Regions from separate parts of the Homo sapiens genome. Here region 1 is linked to region 2. The links are contacts of gene promoters, found by promoter capture Hi-C in blood cells and fetal thymus (Javierre and others, 2016). All regions are on one chromosome and are shown on one strand. Each heading gives the region's core, a stretch centred on a gene start or on the middle of the fragment in contact. The rest is flanking DNA. Distances are from core to core; before and after follow the strand shown.

Region 1 (6,360 bases), core at 2,281-4,780, 190 kb before region 2:
GGAAGGGCGGGGCGTGGACAGGGACGGTGGGCAGGTCACCAGCGGGACGCGGGGAGCCTGGCCACTGTTACACGGCGGTGCGCGTGGGTGTGCCGGGCTGGTTCAGCCCCAGGGTTTTACACAACTAGCAGGCAAAATCCGCTTCTTTCACCTCGGACCGCTTGATGAAGGCGTGGTTTGTGAGCATCTTTAGGTCCGCCCGCTCCGTTGGGTTTTTGATGAGGCATTTATTGACAAACTCCTGGAAGTCGGGGGTGAACACACCGTTGGGCAGCTTAGGAGGCGGCTCTTTCACAATATAGTCCAGCAGTTCGAAGATGGCCATGGCGGGCAGGCTGTCCATCCCGTAACCGCTGTTGGGGCGCCCGGGGGACCCTGGCCAAGAGGAGATGCTGTGAGGCTCTCCTTCTTCCCTGTCGACCACGGGCTGGCCAAAGATGGCCTCCAGCTCCTTGGCGTCGGGCGGGGGGATGGGGTACCTTTCGATGGCCAGCTCCACCAGGGACAGGTCCATGCTCCAGATGACCGACTGCACCGAGTAATGTGTGCCCTGCAACCGCTCCGGAGCCATGTAGGAGCGCGTGCCCACGAAGGAGTTGGCCATGGAGTCGATGAGCTGGCCGCTCACCCCGAAGTCACACAGCTTGATCTCCCCTCTAGAGTTCACGAGGATGTTGGAGGGCTTCACATTTCGGTGCATGATCTGGTGCTTCTCTCGGAGGTACGCCAAGCCCCGGAGAACCGCAATGCTGACTTTCCCCAGGATGTCCTCGGGAATCCTCTTGGCCTCTTTCAGCCCCTGGTCCAGGGAGCCGCCATCCATGTGCTCCATGCAGATGCTGATCTCCCTGTCACAGTAGAAGGCCCCGTAGAAGCCCACGATGTACGGTGAGTTGCACTCGTGCAGGACCTGGTGCTCGCGGATGATCTGGTTCCGGATGGCCGGCTTGATCTCAAGGTGGATCAGCTTCCTGGCCATGATGAGGCCCGAGGGTCTGTGCTGGACTTTGGTGACCACCCCGCCGTTGCCCGCGTCCAGCTCTGAGGTCCTTTCGAAGTCATCGTCTTTGAGTTCGCCGACCTTGGCTTTCTGGGTGAGAAAGGCTTCCAGCCGCTTCTGCTGCTCGTCAAGTTCCAGCTCCTCCAGCTTCTTCTGCAGGTCCACCAGGTTTGCCTCGGAGGCGCCCTCGCTGGTTGGGGACGGGCCCTCGGCGATGGTAGGGTTGATGGTGAGCGCCGGCAGCATCGGCTTCCTCCGGGCCAGCATCCGGGCTCCGCGGGCCGGTGGCGGCGGCGCCTCTAGCCTGGGCCCGTAGTGGGCGGGCCGGGAGCGTTCGGCGCCTACGCGAGCCCGGGGCTGCGACCGCGGCCCAGGCCGGCGTCGGGGCGGCCGAGGGCGGGCGGCGCTGCGGGCCTGGTCCGAGGGTAGCCGAGGGGCGCTGGGGCTGAGGCGAGCGAGCCGCCGCCGCTGCCGAGGCCCGAGGGAGGCTGACGCTGCAGCCGGAGTCCAAGAGCTTTTCAAACTTCTTATATTTTAAATGTGTTAATTCATTTAATCCTTAAAACGATGACATGAGGTAGGTACTATTATTATCCGCACTTCACAAATGAGGAAACTGAGGCAAACAGAGGTCACCTAGCTTGCCCAAGGTTAAACAGACAGCCACATCCAGAAAGCTATAGAGTCTGGCTTTAAACCCAGATAGACCAGCTCTAGGTCTGTGATCATAACCACTGAACTTTACTGCTTCTTACAGCAAGAGTGTATCTGACGAAGTCGTGACTTGGAACTGGCCAAGTCTAGGAAGGATCCAGAGTTTAATTCTGAAGAAGGGAAAGGAGGCTGATATTAAACATGCAATATTTCCAGGCTGTGCTCAGATCTTCATGTAGCTCATTTATGATTACAGAATACATTGCTAAAGAAAAATGGTAAAGAAACGATACTCGTATTTTGAGCAAATCCCCCTCCTCAGACTCCATTTCTAATTACTGCCATTTTCTGAAAGAGTTGTAAGCAATAAATTCTAACTCTGTTAGAAGAGAAGAAAATGTACTGCTCAGGAAGAGTCCTGCAAAACAGAAAAACTTCAAGACAAGCTTAAGCAGTGGTTGCAGATTTATTGCACATTACATTATTTGGATGGACAGGTGAATTTTCTTTGTCCCATAATGTCTTAAAATTTTTGAATTTGAGCTGGGCACGGTGGCTCATGTCTGTAATCCCAGCATTTTGGGAGGCCAAGATGGGAGAATCACTTGAGCCCAGGAGTTCAAGACCAGCCTGAACAACATAGAAAGACCTCTGTCTCCACAATTTTTTTTTTAAAAAAAATTAGCTGGGCATAGTGGTGAGCACCTGCAGTCCCAGCTACTCCGGAGGCTGAGGTGGGAGGATCATTTGAGTCCAGGAGTTTGAAGCTGCAGCGAGCTGTGATCATGCCACTGTACTCCAGCCTGGGCAAGAGAGCTAGACCTTGTCTCAAAAAAAAAAAAAAAATTGAATTTGAATGCTTTTAGCTTGAGCTTACTCTCTCCAATTAGCCATCATCTTTACCACTCCTAGTTACAAACACTATATTACTTCCCTGGACCTAGTAGGCATGCATAGAGGGAGATAGAGATCATTTGTGCAACTAGAGTGATACAGCCAATGAGTAGTCAGTAAAGAACGGAAATTAGGGGCACGCCATTATCAGGGACAGGTCTGTTAGAATCCCATAAAAAATTCCAGTTGTATTCAACCTCCACTGACAATGACGTGGTTCCAGATCACAGTGGATGGAGGAGACTCACCATGCAGAACTGAGTGACGCAGCAGGAGTAGCATCGTGGCAAAGGTAAGAGGTGAGGCTGTGCCAACCAGAACAGGCTGTATTGAGGAGGAGCAAGAAATAAGGTTGGAGGTGTTCGCGAAGGGTTTCAAAGGGCAGGCAGAAGAGTTCAGATTGTGTGAGGTGGAAAACAAATAAGGTTTGTTATTTGGGGCCCTGGAGTGCCTTGGAGATATCCTGTCTCTGGAATATCTGGAATTGCAACGGGAGTAAGAAGTTAGAAGAGCGGCTGTAGATGTGAAGAGGAGGAAAGGATCCAGGGGAATCGAAGTGAGGAGGTTGGCTTTTGTCTGTAGAATCAGGTCTGGTCAGAGAGGAAACTGGGCAACGCAATCATGATCTCAGGGGAAGCATCATGATTTGGTGGAGTTGAGACTGGGGCCGTGGACTGCAAACAAGGGGTTTGGGGATATTTCCTATCAGGAGCAGTCTCACATCCATATAGGGGTAGGCCACTGTGCACTTTTTATGTGAGAGGTTCCATAACGTTTCTCTTCCCTTACTTCTCACCCTCACCAACTTGTCTGAAATTCCCACCATTCTCTAATCCAATTCCCATTATGGTTAGGTTAAGGTGTGGAATCACTATTTAAAATTCAAATATAGGCTAGGTGCAGTGAGTGGCTCACGCCTGTAATCCCAGCACTTTGGGAGACTGAGGCAGGAGGATCACTTGAGGCCAGGAGTTCGAGACCAGCCTGGGCAACATGGCAAAACCCTGTCTCTACTAAAAATACAAAAACTAGCCAGCCGTGGTGGCTCACACCTGTAGTCCCAGCTACTCCGAATGCTGAAGCACAAGAATCGCTTGAATCCGGGAGGCGGAGGTTGCAGTGAGCCAAGATCGCACTACTGCACTCCAGCCTGGGTGACTGAGACACTGTCTCAAAAAAATAAAAATAAAAATAAAAATAAAATATTAAAAAGAAAATGCAGAAAATGCAAAGATTTCTAGGAGGGATACCCAGACCAATATCTGCACTTCAAATCTTAGAAGTTAAACATTTATCAAGACATGATTCTGTACACCCTCCATTCAAGCCACCAGAAATCTGAGACAGAATCTCATGTGTCTGAGACTCGACCACTCTGATTTTGAAGTGAAATTATTTCAAATGCTTAAATGGGTAGCACTGAGTGTTTGTCTGTTATTTTTCCAAGCCCAGCACCTATTCCCCGTTCTGGTACCAGCATGCTAGATTTCCTTTGGGATGCCACCCCACCTCCTGTCTCAGGCTCAGTGAGCATGGGAGAGATCTACCCTTCCACCTGGCAGGTGGAACGCCGGACTCTGTTCTGGCCAATCAGAGCCCAGGGATGGTTATGCGCTCTAACTTGGTCCAGTCAGAATGAAGCCTCTAATTTAGTTGGGGAGGAGGACCATTACTGAAAGGGATTCCCTCTCTCTTTTGCTGGGACCCCCTGGGATTACAGATGACCTGCAGCCACTGGGGGCTACCCCAGGGCTCCTGAGAGAGAAGGTAACACTGAGGAAAGGTAGAGCTGAGACAGGGTTAAACCAAGTCCCAGTGACATAGTTTGAGCCACAAGATCAGTGGTGCCTGAAACAAGCCCTAACCTTAGACTTTTCAGTTATGCGAATCAGTGAAATTGTGTGGTTGTTGTTTGTTGGTTTGGTGTTTTGTTTCATTTTGTCTAAGTCAGATAAAAATGGATTTTCAGTTATCTTGAAACTGAAAATCTGCTGACTGGCACGCCATCCCGCTGGCTTGTGTGCTGTGCACATTAACAAGACTCACCTTTTCTTAGGATTCATCCTATGTGCAAGATTACCAGGATGTAGCCAGATTCAGGATGCCTGTTTTTATAGCTTAGCTACAGAGTTTTTCTTCACCTCTAGCAATTGCCTATGCCCTTTCAGCGGCCTCAGCAGGGAGAAGCACAGTGGGACTCCTTGAAAGGCAGATCCAGAAGGCTGGTTATGTGGACAGTTCACCACAGTTAACTGGGGTAACCACAGTTGGCCTGGGCAGTCCAGAAGCAGATGACCCACCCCCATACTGTGGGCAGCTCTTCCTGCAGTGCTTAACTCCAGAAAAAAACCCTCCACCAGTTCCTTACTAAGGTGGTAAACAACCCTAAGAAATCTGGCTCTCTAAGCTTGGGACAGCCAAGAAATGAGTCAGCCTTCTGGAGAAACCCCCCTTGCCACAGCCTGTGCTTCCCCATTTCTGCCAGGGCCCCAGCCCCAGCCCCAGCCCCCATGTCAGTAAAGCCTATGCATTTCTTTCAAGAGCATGACAAAACCTCATATCTGAAAAGCACTGAAGTGCTGTACCTCTTTCAAAGTACTTGTGCATTCATTATCTCATTAGGATACCAGATTTGCTATTTTTTTCTTCAGATTCTTTTTTTTTTTTTTTTAACTCAAATCCAGCAGAGTTTTTTCATGTGGTTCTCAATGAGACTTGAGAAGAGAAAATCAGAATTCAATCCAAAAGCACAGCTTTTCTAGAGACATAAATATAATCCTCCTCTCTCATGCCAAAAATAACAAGGGGGCAGAGGTTAGATTCTAGAGGAAAGAACATTGAGTGTGAACTGAAACCTTTCTAGTTACAGATCTACCACTAAGTAGCTGTGTGACCTGGACAAGCCCCTTAATCTCTCTGCACTTCAGTTTCTTCCTTTGTAAAATGGCAGCATTGAGGCTTCCTGGGAACCCTGGCCTTGATATTTTCTAAGCATCTTTGAAGCTCTGAGGTTTTATGGCTCGGTGAATTGTAGAATCTGAGGAGACTGATTTATAAGCAAGTTGGCACGTTTTTTAAGCCCAGTCATTCCTTTGGTGTGTGCAAGGGAGAGCCCCTGCTCAGAGTGTCAGGAGCCATAGCACATTGGGATGTAGACTGAGCATGGCCCACTTCCCAGAGACCCCAAGGCCTGCCTTAGGCCCACCTCTGATGGTGGTGGTTGGTTGGTGGTGGTTAGTTGGTTAAATGAAGGGTGAGATCCTGACCACTCACTAAATGCTGAACTCTTGATAGATTAGGAGGAAGCTCTGCTATCTGTGGGATGAGGCACAGCAGATGATGTGGTTTGGCTGTGTTCCCACCCAAATCTCATCTTGAATTCCCACATGTTGTGGGAGGGACTGGGTGGGAGATAATTGAATCATGAGGGCAGGTCTTTCCCATGCTGTTCTCATGATAGTGAATAAGTCTCATGAGATCTGATGGTTTTAAAAATAGGAGTTTCCCTGCACAAGCCCTCTCTGTGCCTGCTGCCATCCATGTAAGATGTGACTTGCTCCTCCTTGCCTTCCGCCATGATTGTGAGGCTTCCCAAGCCATGTGGAACTGTAAGTCCATTAAAGCTCTTTCTTTTGTAAATTAGCCAGTCTCGGGTATGTCTTTATCAGCAGTGTGAAAACAGACTAATACAGCAGATGTCAGATTGGTTCTTGGAATGGAAGGTAAGCGAACTCTAGTGTTTACTGAAGACAGGGCCTATGTAGGGATTGGCAGGGTAGGGTGGTAGGCCCTATTTAGCAGTACAGAGACTG
Region 2 (5,873 bases), core at 1,227-3,726:
CCAGCGGCACACAATTCTGGCCGAGCAAGGGTGGACAGAGGAAGCTCTGTCTGCACAGAATCGGGGAGAGCTTCCCTAATGACCCCCTGGGCTGAGGCCGTGCAGGCGCTGGTGCCGTTGGGGAGCTCAGAGGGTCCGGCTGCCTGCCCCCTACTGTCAGTCCAGCAGTCTGGCCCTGCCCAACACGGCTGTTTAATACAGAGCAAGGTTTTGAAATGATAACTCCGACCTCAGTGTCAGAGGGCCGCGTCCATACAGGCAGCTTAGGGAGGGGTGTGGAGGAGGAGCTCCCGTGACAAGCCCGGCTGTGATGAGCGAGAGTCTGTCCACCATGCCACAGAAGGGACTCAGCCTCAAGGCTTTTGCCTGCAGCTAGGTCCACACGAGCTCTAACCCGAACAGCATCCATCCTCCTAGAAGCTCCCTTCTGCCCAGAAAAGGGCTAGGTCTAATTCAGACCACCCCAATCAAGGCCCATGACTTTGGAAGTTCGGTGTCAGAACAGGTCTGCCTGCCAGGCTCCGGAGTCTCTGGGTGAAATGTATGGAGCCCTAGACCTAAGTCAATGGACCTGAGCCCCGGAAGGTGGGGAAATCCAACAGCCTGAGGAAGTCCCTACAATTGTGTGAGGCAGCGAAGCATCCAGTGGGCAGCCCTAGAGGACCTGCTGAGGTGGGGTAAGCCCACAGCTCACCCCAGGGCCATGCTGGAGTCCCAGGAGACAGTGCCCCCACCACCACCCAGGAGCTGCAATTCATGGGCACCAGGGACCCACTAGGGGAGGAAGTGCCACAGCAGTCCTAGTAAGAGTGGCCAGACAGCAGGCGCCCTGCTGCTCCCAGGGTTGGTCTGGGTCACATGTCTCCTTGCAAACCCACACCCAGCTCAGGGAGAGGACAAGGGGTTCCCTGTACAGGCCCTGACCCCCAAATCCCACCCCTCCGGGTCAGCTGCCCACACCCTGGGCCCTGCTGCCCACCTGGTCCAGACAGGCTGAGGCTCTGGGGCAAAAGGTGCCCAGAAAGAAGCTTCTTTCAGCTTCCTCCCAGGGTCAGGGTAGGGGAAGACCAGGGTACAGGGGAAAAACCCCAAAGTAGGGCCTTTAGATAAAAAGGGGTGATTTCCCAGTGCTTCCCTTGACTCTTGGAACCCCTCAGCCCCAGCACCCCAGGCCCCATAACTACTGGGGGTGGGGGCAGGAAGGGGAGGTCTTGCCAGAGGGCCTCCTGAGGGGCTACAGTTTCCTACATCGATACAGCCGAGCCCTCTCTGGTTCTGGTCACTTATCCCCATTCTGGGCCCTCGAGGAGCCCAGGCCCAGCCCAGTCCTCCGCCCCTGCTCCCCCCTCCCCTCCGCCCCCACCCCTCCCGCGTGCTCCGCTGGGGCACACCCCCTGGGCCAGCCCGCGGAGCCACCCCCACCTCCAGAGTCGGCCTCTGGACCTCTCCTCCTGCTGCTGGAGGAGCAGCACCCCGGTCCTCGCCCTGCTGTGTTCAGCGTGGCCGCGAGGCTGGGAAAGTCCCCCACTCCAGCCTCTGCTCCCAGGTACCCGCTCCCGCCCCTCCCGGGGTCCGGAGACAACCATCTCCCCACGCATCCCGGCCATGCTAGCCTCACTTTTCCTCCACGTTTAGCCTCTTCATTGTTGCCTTCTTAAGTTCTGGGACAGGACCTGAGGAAACCAGCCCAGGAACTATTGCGCCCCATCCTTTTCCGCTGCTCGGGGGACGAGAGTCTGCCATTCCCGGCCGCGAGCCCAGGGACGCAGCCTCTACCTGACACCATCTTCCCCCAAACTCTTGCACAGTTCCTGCCATTGGCCTGAAGATCCCGGGGGATGAACGCTTTAACCTCAACCTCTTTTCCGAAAGGGTGAGGGTGGCCCGGTAAGAGCAAGGGCGAGTGCATCGAAAGTAAGGATCGGGCCTCGCTCCTCTGTGGTCCAAGCCAGCCTCCAGCGGGGCTCCCGGGAACCCCCATTCTGGGCGATGGCGAGGGGGAGGGAGAGCAGCAGAGCCGGCGCCCCCCGCAGCGCTGCCCACTCCGCCGCCTGGGTCACTGGGCTCCCCGGGCGCCAGCACCCCAAACCGATCGGGGCGTGGGAGGCGCTTTGGAAGTCCCAGGCCGGCCGGGCGCACCCTGCTGTAGGCACCCACCCGAGCTCGCTTTCCAGGCGCAGCTGGACGCGGACCCCGCCCTACTCCAGTCTTCATCCCGCCGCCCGCAGGTGCCTGGGGGGCGCGGGGCCCAGTCTAGGCCTAGACTTGGGGGCAGTAGCCGGCACCGCTCCCGCCACCCTCGGGGCGCGCCGGGCGCGGACGCAGAGAGGAGAGCGCGGCGGCCGGGACCCACCTGTCTGCGGTGCGCCTGCGTGGCTGCGCCAGGGAGCACCGGCCGGGCGGCGGGACCAAGCTGAGCTCTGCCCAGGCTGCGCCTCCCGCCGGTCCGCCAACCTGCCGGGCACTTCCGCGTCTTGCCGCCCCCGCCCCTGGGCAGCTGCTGCTGAGCTCCGGGCGCGGGCAGTGCCCCGCCCCGCCCCGCGAATCCACTCCGGGCCCCGCACTGACCTGGCAACTGCAGATCCGGGCTGAGCCTCGGGCCAGGCCCAGGGCCTCCAGGGAGATGCCAGACGGCGCGGTGCCCTAGACTGGCCACTGGCTCTTTTGGCAATCTGGAATGGCAAAACTGTCATTTGACAACCCCGTACCTCCCGCTGCAGTGCTCAGTTGGGCCCTGGGAGAGGGTGGGGTGCTTCCCCACTCTGGTCCTCCGGGGCTGCACACAAATGAGGGCGCAGTGTGGCCGACCCACAGCTCCAGGCCCTCCTCTCGCCTGCCTACACCCCTGGCGAGGGTGGCTCTCGCCCTAGAACACAGTCGCTGCCCCCAGGATCCAGACACCCCTTCCAGATGTGCTTGCAGGCGGGAATCCTCTAGTCACTCTGTGCCTTTCTCATCCTCAAACCCTGCACCTGTCTCGCCCCAGCTCCCCTAAGTCGCCTTCCAGTCATCCCAGGGGCAGCGGCGTGGTCGCCTGTCCCACCTCCTCTCACTACTACCTTGACCGTCGACCTGTGGTTCTGAACCGTTTTCGATTCCATAAAGAACCTCACCCCAGAACCTCCACCTTCACACACCTCCTGTTCCTTCTCATGGAATGTTCTTCGCTTGGTAACTCTTGCTCTTCAAAATTTCTGTTTCTGAAATTTTCAGCATCGCCTTCTCTGGAAAGTCTGCCTTGACTTCCCCTCCCAGGTGGGGTTCCAGGGTGCAAATAGCTTCCTGGTTGATTTTGCTTATGATTTTGTTATGGATTGCCAGGGGTTTGGTCCAGGTCTGGCTGCTCACCGCACAGAAAGCCTATCACTGAGACAGCGAGTATTGCCAGGGAAGACTTTATTCCGGTGACATCAGCCAGTGAGCTGTTGAGAGGGGAGACAAACCTCCAATCCATCCCTCCCCTTGACTAAAGTTAGGGGCTTATATAGCAGGGAAGGAAAACAGGAGGGACAAGGAAGAGGAATTGGTCAACAGGCAGCAGGTGTACTGATGTAAGTGTCTCAAGCTTCAGTTCTATGAGCATCTGGCTTTTTGGAAAATTCAGCGGGTTTCAATTTTGATGTCTGATTTCCACTCGAATCAGCTTACTCAGGAACCTCCCTCCTGTCTTTTCATTGTTCATTTTATTTTATTTTATTTTTTGATATGGAGTCTTGCTCTGTCACCCGGGCTGGAGTGCAGCAGTGCGATCTCAGCTCACTGCAACCTCTGCCTCCCCAGTTCAAGCGATTCTCCTGCCTCAGCCTCCCAAGTAGAGACGGGGTTTCACCATGTTGGCCAGGCTGGTCTCGAGCTCCTGACCTCAGGCGATCCACCCGCCTTGGCCTCCCAAAGTGCTGGGATTACAGGCGGGAGCCACTGCGCCAAGCAGAGCCTTGTATTTTTAACAAATAAAGTAGTATTTGTTGATGAATCAGAACTTTGACCTTCCCTCCCCTCCCTTCTCCTGGGTTGAACTTTACCTTTAACAAGTTAAAAAAAGACACTCATGTGTTAACGTTTTTTTTTTTTCTCTTCTGTATCTCTCCCTCTTTCCTGACCTTTGAAGCCCTAATATGAAGTCGAAATATCATTATATATAAGTATTTTATTATTTGTATCTGCTGAGTATTTCATTATTTCATATTTTTAAAATTTAAAGTATGGATGGGGAAAATGTGAATGGGTAGATCGTTTTATATTTCTTTCTTTAAAAATGAAATTGCTAGGCCAGGCACGGTGGCTCACATTTGTAATCCCAACACTTTGAGAGGCTAAGGCAGGCAGATCACTTGAGTCCAAGAGTTCGAGACCAGCCTGGGCAATATGGCAAAACCTTGTCTCTACAAAAAATACAAAAATTAGCCTGGCGTGGTGACACACACCTATAGTTCCACCTACTTGGGAGGCTGAGGTGGGAGAATTGCTTGAACCCAGGAGGCACACCACCGCACTCCAGCCTGGGCGTAGAAGTGAGATCTTATCTCAAAATAATAATAATAAAATGAAATTGCTATTTCAAAAGTGGCTCCCCACAAAATGGGAACCTTTTTCACTGGAGGTCAGTTATGCTTAATAGAAAAATATTCTATGCTGGTCGTATCTGGAGCAATAGCTAAGAAGAGCCTTCTTTTGTTATCAAATACTCCTCACCCATTCTGAGGGACCGTGAGACCCTAGAATTCTGCCCTCTGCCCCCTTCCCACTGTCCATCTTGCTCAGGTGAGGCCCCTTCCTTAGAGCCTCTGAACCTCAAGAAGCAGCACGGGCTGCGTGCAGAGAAGGGGCTTGCACCTGGCTTTGCTGTATTCCAGCCAAGTGGCCTTAAGTAGGACCTCAAATCTCATTTCCTCGTCTCTAAAAGGGGGATGATGTTACCAAGCCGGCAGCATTGATATGGGGCTCCCGGGATAGAGGCTATGCAGGGGCTCAGCTTGGCTCAGATCCTGACTTCCCTCAACTGAAAGAACCTGAGCCAAGAATCATCTGGGGCCAGAGACATGGCCCAGGAGAAAGGAAGGACAGAGAGCAGCACTCCAGTGTTTCCAGGATCTGGGATCCCTTGGCCTCCCAGTGCCATCCTGGGGGTGGAAGGGCAAGTAGAGGGGAAGTGAAGCCACACCCGGCCCTTGTGTGAGCACTCCCATTTCCCCTTGATGGGCCAGGAGGCGGTGGGGACAGGGAGGTCTGTCCGGGCCCCCCACTCCCCACAGTGAGATGGCCCCTTCCCCCATTTCCCCTGGCTGGAATATCACAGACTGAGGGTGTGGTAGGAGGCACCCTCCCCTGACTCGAGTAGAAGCTACGCTGTGTGAGCGAGTGTAGAGTGGGGTGGCTGGGGTGGGGAGCAGGGGGGAGGAGGGAAGCCGTGTCACCAAAGGGAACTGAAAGAAACCCAGAGGCCCACTGGGCAGCTGAACAATGCACCCTGGCTCTGGAACAGCCCCCTTCAGTGCAGCCTGGGTTGATGACAACTGCCTTTGCCTCTCAAAACCTCTACCCCAGGAAACCCACCCCCTCGGCCTGGGCTCTCAGGGGTCCCCAGGCTGACTGTCCTATTTCTCAGAAACCCCGAGTTTCTGAGAACTTGTTGGCTGGACATCAGGCTCTGAGGTCAACAGGTCTGAGTCAAATCCTCACTCTGCAATCTAGAATTGCGTGACCTAAGCAAGCCATTCACTCCCCCAGAAGCCCCATTTCCCATCTGTAAAGGAGAATGGTGACACCAGTGTCACGAATTGGCTGTGAGTCTACATTCAACAATGCTTATCGGGCATGTTGTACCTGCCAGGATAAAGTGGTGGACAATTTCTACTTTGTCTAAAAACCCCTGC

The links. The method cuts DNA at HindIII sites, captures the fragments that hold promoters and counts their contacts. A CHiCAGO score of 5 or more calls a contact.
Region 1: a contact is called between a fragment that was not itself captured here and the fragment with the promoter of IRF5 in region 2, in 1 of 17 cell types (M1 macrophages). The highest score is 5.2, in M1 macrophages.

Annotation. Positions count from the first base shown.
Region 1 is chr7:129,121,425-129,127,784 of GRCh38, reverse strand. It overlaps the pseudogene LOC407835. Among named protein-coding and RNA genes, the nearest start is that of TSPAN33, 20 kb to the left of the region's middle. RefSeq lists enhancers at 5-505, 4,661-4,930, 5,381-5,550. The HindIII fragment of the contact is 2,855 bases long and covers 2,103-4,957 here.
Region 2 is chr7:128,934,530-128,940,402 of GRCh38, reverse strand. It overlaps IRF5 (interferon regulatory factor 5), which reads right to left and starts at 2,476. Exons shown (of 9, transcript NM_001098629.3): 1 at 2,354-2,476. RefSeq lists enhancers at 1-9, 1,500-1,569, 1,603-2,186, 3,854-4,148, 5,564-5,683 and silencers at 1,850-2,609, 5,344-5,433. The HindIII fragment of the contact is 2,537 bases long and covers 1,031-3,567 here.